2 separate regions of the Homo sapiens genome follow, and region 2 is linked to region 1. Evidence: promoter capture Hi-C in human tissues and cell types (Jung and others, 2019). All regions are on one chromosome and are shown on one strand. Each heading gives the region's core, a stretch centred on a gene start or on the middle of the fragment in contact. The rest is flanking DNA. Distances are from core to core; before and after follow the strand shown.

The links. Contacts are between HindIII fragments. The study calls those that stand out against the background at their distance.
Region 2: a fragment that was not itself captured here is called in contact with the fragment with the promoter of ADAMTS9 in region 1 in 2 of the 25 tissues and cell types used here (aorta and small bowel).

The regions. Positions count from the first base shown.
Region 1 is chr3:64,686,452-64,689,337 of GRCh38, forward strand. It overlaps ADAMTS9 (ADAM metallopeptidase with thrombospondin type 1 motif 9), which reads right to left and starts at 1,549. Exons shown (of 40, transcript NM_182920.2): 1 at 1,092-1,549; 2 at 117-517. The coding sequence starts at 1,206. The region is part of intron 1 of ADAMTS9-AS2 (ADAMTS9 antisense RNA 2); the gene reads left to right. The HindIII fragment of the contact is 6,670 bases long and covers 1-2,886 here.
Region 2 is chr3:64,787,774-64,790,545 of GRCh38, forward strand. The region is part of intron 1 of ADAMTS9-AS2 (ADAMTS9 antisense RNA 2); the gene reads left to right. Among named protein-coding and RNA genes, the nearest start is that of ADAMTS9, 100 kb to the left of the region's middle. The HindIII fragment of the contact is 3,432 bases long and covers 1-2,772 here.

The DNA of each region.
Region 1 (2,886 bases), core at 299-2,798:
CCGGAGAGGAGCGGAGCCTCGCCACAGTGAGGGTCTCTAGGCTTAGAGGACAATTAAGTCTTCTAGAAGCGGGCGAGGAGGCGGAAGGGGAGAGGAGGTGGCGCGCGCCCACTTACCATTCCTGAGCAGAGGCTGATGACGGCCGTGTGCTCGGAGTTGGTATTGACATAGCCTTTGTAGAAACAGTGCTTGAGTTCCGCTTCCTCTTCGGAATAAAACTTGGTCTGATTCACCCCGGGCGTCCCGAGGAGGGTGACAGTGAACAGTGGAGCGATAAATCCGGCATTGGCGGTGAGATTAAATAGAAACTGCTGGCCGAAGGCAGAGAGGCGGTAATGCGCCTGGGAGGAGGTAGAGGAGGAAGAGGAGGAGGCGAAGGCAGGCCAGGGGTCAGTGGCAGAGTTAATGCTCCGTCGCGTTCTTTTGAAGTGGACGTTCGTGGGAAAGGGTTCTCCGAGAGCGTTCACTCGGATGGGAGACACGATTTCGTATTCGCTCAGGGTCTCTAATAATTTCACTGCGGAGAGAAGCAGAGGTATATGAACCAATAATTCATTTTTCCTTAAGCTTTAATTTAAAACGAAGGTGGGGACTTTGTTCTGACCTTATTTTCCAGCCCATTCGAGTCAATCCCTTCACCCTTAATCAGTGGACAAATATTTGCTGAGCACCTACTATGTGCCAGTAACAGGACCTGTGCTAGGTGCTGAGGATACACTATTCCGAGCCAGACAATTAACAAGTCAAAATATATATGATTTCAGATATTGATAAATAACCTGAATAAAATAAAACATGACGCTATCTGGTGCCCCCAATTACTAAGTTACTTTAGTTTGCGGCGTGGGAGTGGGGATGGGGATATATCTGGCAACAGCAAGGTAGGGGGGGGTTGCCTAAATTCGTTTCCATAGTGTCCCTCCCTAGCAATTGGTTGGGGATGACCCAAAGAAGGGAGAGGCTGCAAAGCGGGAGATAATTCTTTCTAGGAAAAGGAGAGAAGCCTCCGCTGCGGGGTGCCCCTGCCCAGGAGCGAGGACCGGGAGGCGGCGTCGGGGCCGGCGGGGTCCCGGGGGCCGGAGCCTGGTTACCTTGCCTCGGGTGCAGCCTGTCCTTGCGCACGGCCGCCGCGGCGTCTGGGCTCCCCATCTCGGCCAGGTCCCGCACCAGGAGCGTTAGCAGTGTGGCCCAGGATACAAACTGCATGGTGCTTCCCACCCCTCCCTCCGCTGCCCCCACCCCCCTCCCTCCTGCCCTCCTTGGCTGCGGCGGCGACGCGAGGCAGCGGCCGTGGAGAGCGCGCGGAGCCCGGCGCCCGCCGCCAACTTTTGACTTTAGGAGTCGCTGAGGTCTCGCTGCGAGGGTCCCGTCTGCGCTCGGCTGAGCAACGCCGCCGCCTGCCGAGAGCTGAGCCGCTCGGGCCGCAGGAGGAGCCGGAGGAGCAGGAGGAGGAGGAGGACTGGGGCTCGGCTGCTTGGCCGCATAATGCCCAGCGAGCGGGCAGGAGAAGGCGAGGAACTTGCGCTCCGAGGCGCGCCGGGCGCCCTGTGCTGGCCGGGATAGCTGAGCGGCTTCTTGAATGGGGGGCTGGGGGGGCGGAGGCGGGGGGGCCGCGGGTCCACAGCCTCTCAAATGCCCCCGGTGCACGCCTCTAAGAGGAGGAGAGGGGAGGAGAAAGCGAGACGAACGGGGACCGCCTCCTTCCAGACCATGTCCCCTCCTCGGCCGGCCCGTGCGGGACTCGCAGCCGGAGGCCCTGCCGGCTGCAAGAGGCGGAGGCCAGAGGCGTCACCAGCGCCGGGGCAGCTGTTCCTGGTCCCCGCCACCTCGCTGAAGTGGGGTTTTCTGAGATTCCCTGCCCCGGGGAGGGAAAGCAGGGAAAGTTCTCTCCCTTTCCTGGCGCGCGTGCAGCCACTTCCCCTCTCGTCTTTTTCCTCTCCTCTCCTCTCTCTCCTCCCTTCCGAGTCTCTTTTTCCTCCTCCCCCTTGTCTCTCTGCTGCTGTGCCTCTCGGACTCTGTCCCTTCTCCCCATTTTCCCCTGTGATGTCTGTCTTCTCCCCGCCCCACCGTGTCCCTGTCTGTTTCTCACATTTCTCCTTTTCCTTTCCTTTCTCTTCCGTCCCCATCTCTTGCCACCAGTCCCCATCTTTTGGTTTCTTACAAGTGAAAGTGGCCCAGCGCCGGAGCGCCTTCCCTTCCTACACTTTTTCATTCGGGAAGAGATTTGGCACCTGAGCTCCGCTCTCGATTTAATCACCCCAAGTCAAGAGTTTTAGAAATGGGGTTCTTAATCCTGCAGGTCGGAGTGTGTTTCTAATACGTGGTCTCTTGAAAATTTCGCAAAATATTTAAGCTGTGCTTTCCACCAACCTCTGTCACCATTCATGGAGGGTCCATAGCATTCTGTAGGTCCCCTGCCCCAAAAAAGGTTAAGAACAAATTTTGGCAGCAAGAAGGGGCGGGGACTCTGGCGCCCCTCACTACCAGGGGGTTTAGAGATGGGAGGGGAAGGGGGGATGGAGTGTAAAGTTGTAGATCCCTGTGGGAGGCACCAGTCCCTGGAGGGATTTCTCAATCACTTCCGCTTGCTTTCAGCCTGAGAGATGCTTGGAAAGACTGGGAAAGACTGAAAGCAGGCGCTTCAAGCTACACCTTCGTGTGTGTGTGTGTGTGTGTGTGTGTGTGTGTGTGTGTGAATTGTTCAATCTTGGGTGGTTCAGTGGCGCCTTTTCTTTAACCAGCCCTCAGGAAGATAGAATTTCAAGATAATTTCAAGAGGAAAGACATGACAATATCGTTAAAAATATATAAATATATGACTAATAAATATATATTTGCCCAAGTATCCTAGAACGGGGGTTGAGGTTCTGTTGCGTGGTAGGTTAG
Region 2 (2,772 bases), core at 213-2,712, 100 kb after region 1:
TGAAATATTCACATAATGGAAGACCATGAAAACTGAACATTAATGAATTCGAACTTCATGCACAAAAATATTAAGTGAAAGAAACAAAACTTAGAAGAACTCATGCAGTATGATAGTAAAGTGACATAAATTGTTTAGAAATTCTTATACACATAGGAAAAGTATGAGGAAGAAAAAGAGAATGGTGAACCCAAAATTCAGAATAGTAGTTTCCTTTCATAAGAGCTCCATGAGTTCGGGGCTTCTTGTCTGTTTTATTTTTAATGTTACTGTTTTCCAGTTCCTAGAACATTACTTGATATATAATAGTCACTCAAATAAACATTTTTGAAGAAATAAATAAGAGGAGAGGGGGATTGATATGGGCAGCTGCAGAAGGACTGGAAAAGTTTTATTACTTAAGCTGGATGATGGGTACACAGGGTGTATATAACAATATTCTGTATATTACATGGATGTGAGTATATAGACTTTTACATTATTAAATGTTATAATTTTTTTTTTGAAGACCAGGTCTTTGACACCCAGGCTGGAGTGCAGTGGTGCAATTCCAGCTCACTGCAGGCTTGACCTCCCTGGGCTCAGGTGATCCTCCCACCTCAGCCTCCTGAGTAGCTGGGCCTACAGGTGTACTCCACCACACCTGGCTAATGTTTTGTATCTTTTTGCAGAGACAAGGTTTCACCATGTTGCCCAGGTTGGTCTCAAACTCCTGGCTCAAGCGACCCTCCAATCTCACCCCCAAAGTGCTAGGATTACATGCATGACCCACTGTATCCAGCCATAAAATGTAATAAATTTTAAAATTAAAAAATACATTGTTAAACTTTCATATTGAAAATATTATCAAAGTGAGGAAAAAAACAGACATCCTCACTCCATCCCTCAGACCCAACTTCCTGTTGCCTCTGCCTTGGGTCTTACATTTGCCCTCAAAGGAAGAGGGTAGGATCAATGGGTACAGGGTGGGTGAGTCACAAAATGAGCCTCAGAGAGTTTGGTTATTCTCATATTTTAGGTAAAAAGTAGATTGAAAAAAGCATTTTACATTACAATTTTACATCAAAATGACCATGTTGCTGTGTCCCGCCTTGTCCTGCGTAAGAGCTAAAGAGAGAAAAAGAAACAGACAGGTAGGTCCATTTGGGGTGGACTTGAGGTCATGGGTAGCTTTTAAGATAGAGAAGCATTTAATTCTATTTCTTTCCTTTCTTTAGCTCTAGACATAATGTTTACAATATATGTATGTCTCTTTCAAATGAGTCAGTAAAGAAATGCCAGTACCAAGATGTCTCGAAAATATAATTTTAGAAAAAGGGGAAAAATGGCCCAATCTAATCACATGACAGCCTGCCAAAAACACCATTTCCCTAGCACCATGAGGATCAACTGAGATCATTCCTATTTTTTAGTTTCTTTTACACATTTTTTTTGTCTTTCAAAAATAAGCCATGTGTTTAAACAACTTGGAAGGTGAATGTTCTTATTAGTTTGACTGTTTCCACAGAGTATTTTAGTTCATTCCAGCAAGTTCTGGCTGAATGCCTATGATGTGCCTAACACCTTAAGGAAGCGTGGACAGCGGTAGGTTCTAGTTCAAAAGCAGCTCAAATACAGAAACCTCCACCGCAACCTACTTCATGAGTTAAGGAGCTGGGTAATTTCACTCACTGCCGTATTATGGAAAAGTCTACTTTGGTATTGTTGAATGTCATATGTGAGGTATGGAGTTTAATGCAAAGGACTAGGAATTGCATATTTTTTGATATGGAAAGAGAAGGAAAAAAAAACATGCAAACTAAGCCTTCAGTGCTGATAAATGCAAAGACTTACTGCTCACTCTGAGAAGCATATCCTTATGGCTGAAGTTCACCAGGGGAGGTGCTGGGAGTCAATGCCTAAGCAATACTCTAATCCCACTCTGGTGCAACCTGTTCCTGAACTTGGATAAGTCTAGGTTTGGTTTTCACATATGTACCATAAAACAAGCATCCTTAAGGTTTCACCTAGCTCTCATATAGCCTTTGCTTCTCTTCTACTACTTTTGTATCTTCTATACATACCCACAGTTCACAGACACACACACACACACACACATACACACCCCTCTTAGATGAGTTTCTTCAAATAGTTTTAGCAAACATTTCTAGAGGATCCAGCTGGGGTCTCAAACATAGAAACTCTGAGAGAATCATTTGCAACATATGTTAATTGAATTACTGAATGAATAACTGAACTCATTCATTCAATATAAATTTATACTATTTATGAGAACATGGTTAATGTCTCCCAAACTTCAATCATTTACACATCACTATTATGAATTGTGCTATATAATCTGTATAATTTGGAGCATTTTAGTTTTTCCTTAAAATGTCTCATTTTTACTCAAATGTAGTTTTAAAGCAAATGCTATATTACTCTTTTATAAAAAGAAAACCAATACTAGTCGGGAAATATTTCTTTAGGGAGACACAAAGAACAGTTGACTATAAGAGAAAAGATTGATAAATGTATATAGTAAGAACTTTTATTCATTACGAAAACTTAAAGATACTGAAAGGTAAATTGCAGACTGCAATAAGATAATCTGCAATATCTAGCTACACACAATCTACAAATAATTAGAATCAAAATATGTTAAAGTGACTAAAAATCAGTAAGAGTAGCACAAACAAGCCAAAAGAAAAATGGGCACAAAACAGCAGTAGGCATTTCACAGAAGAGATAAACACATGTATGCAACAGATGCATGAAGAAATTTTTAGTATT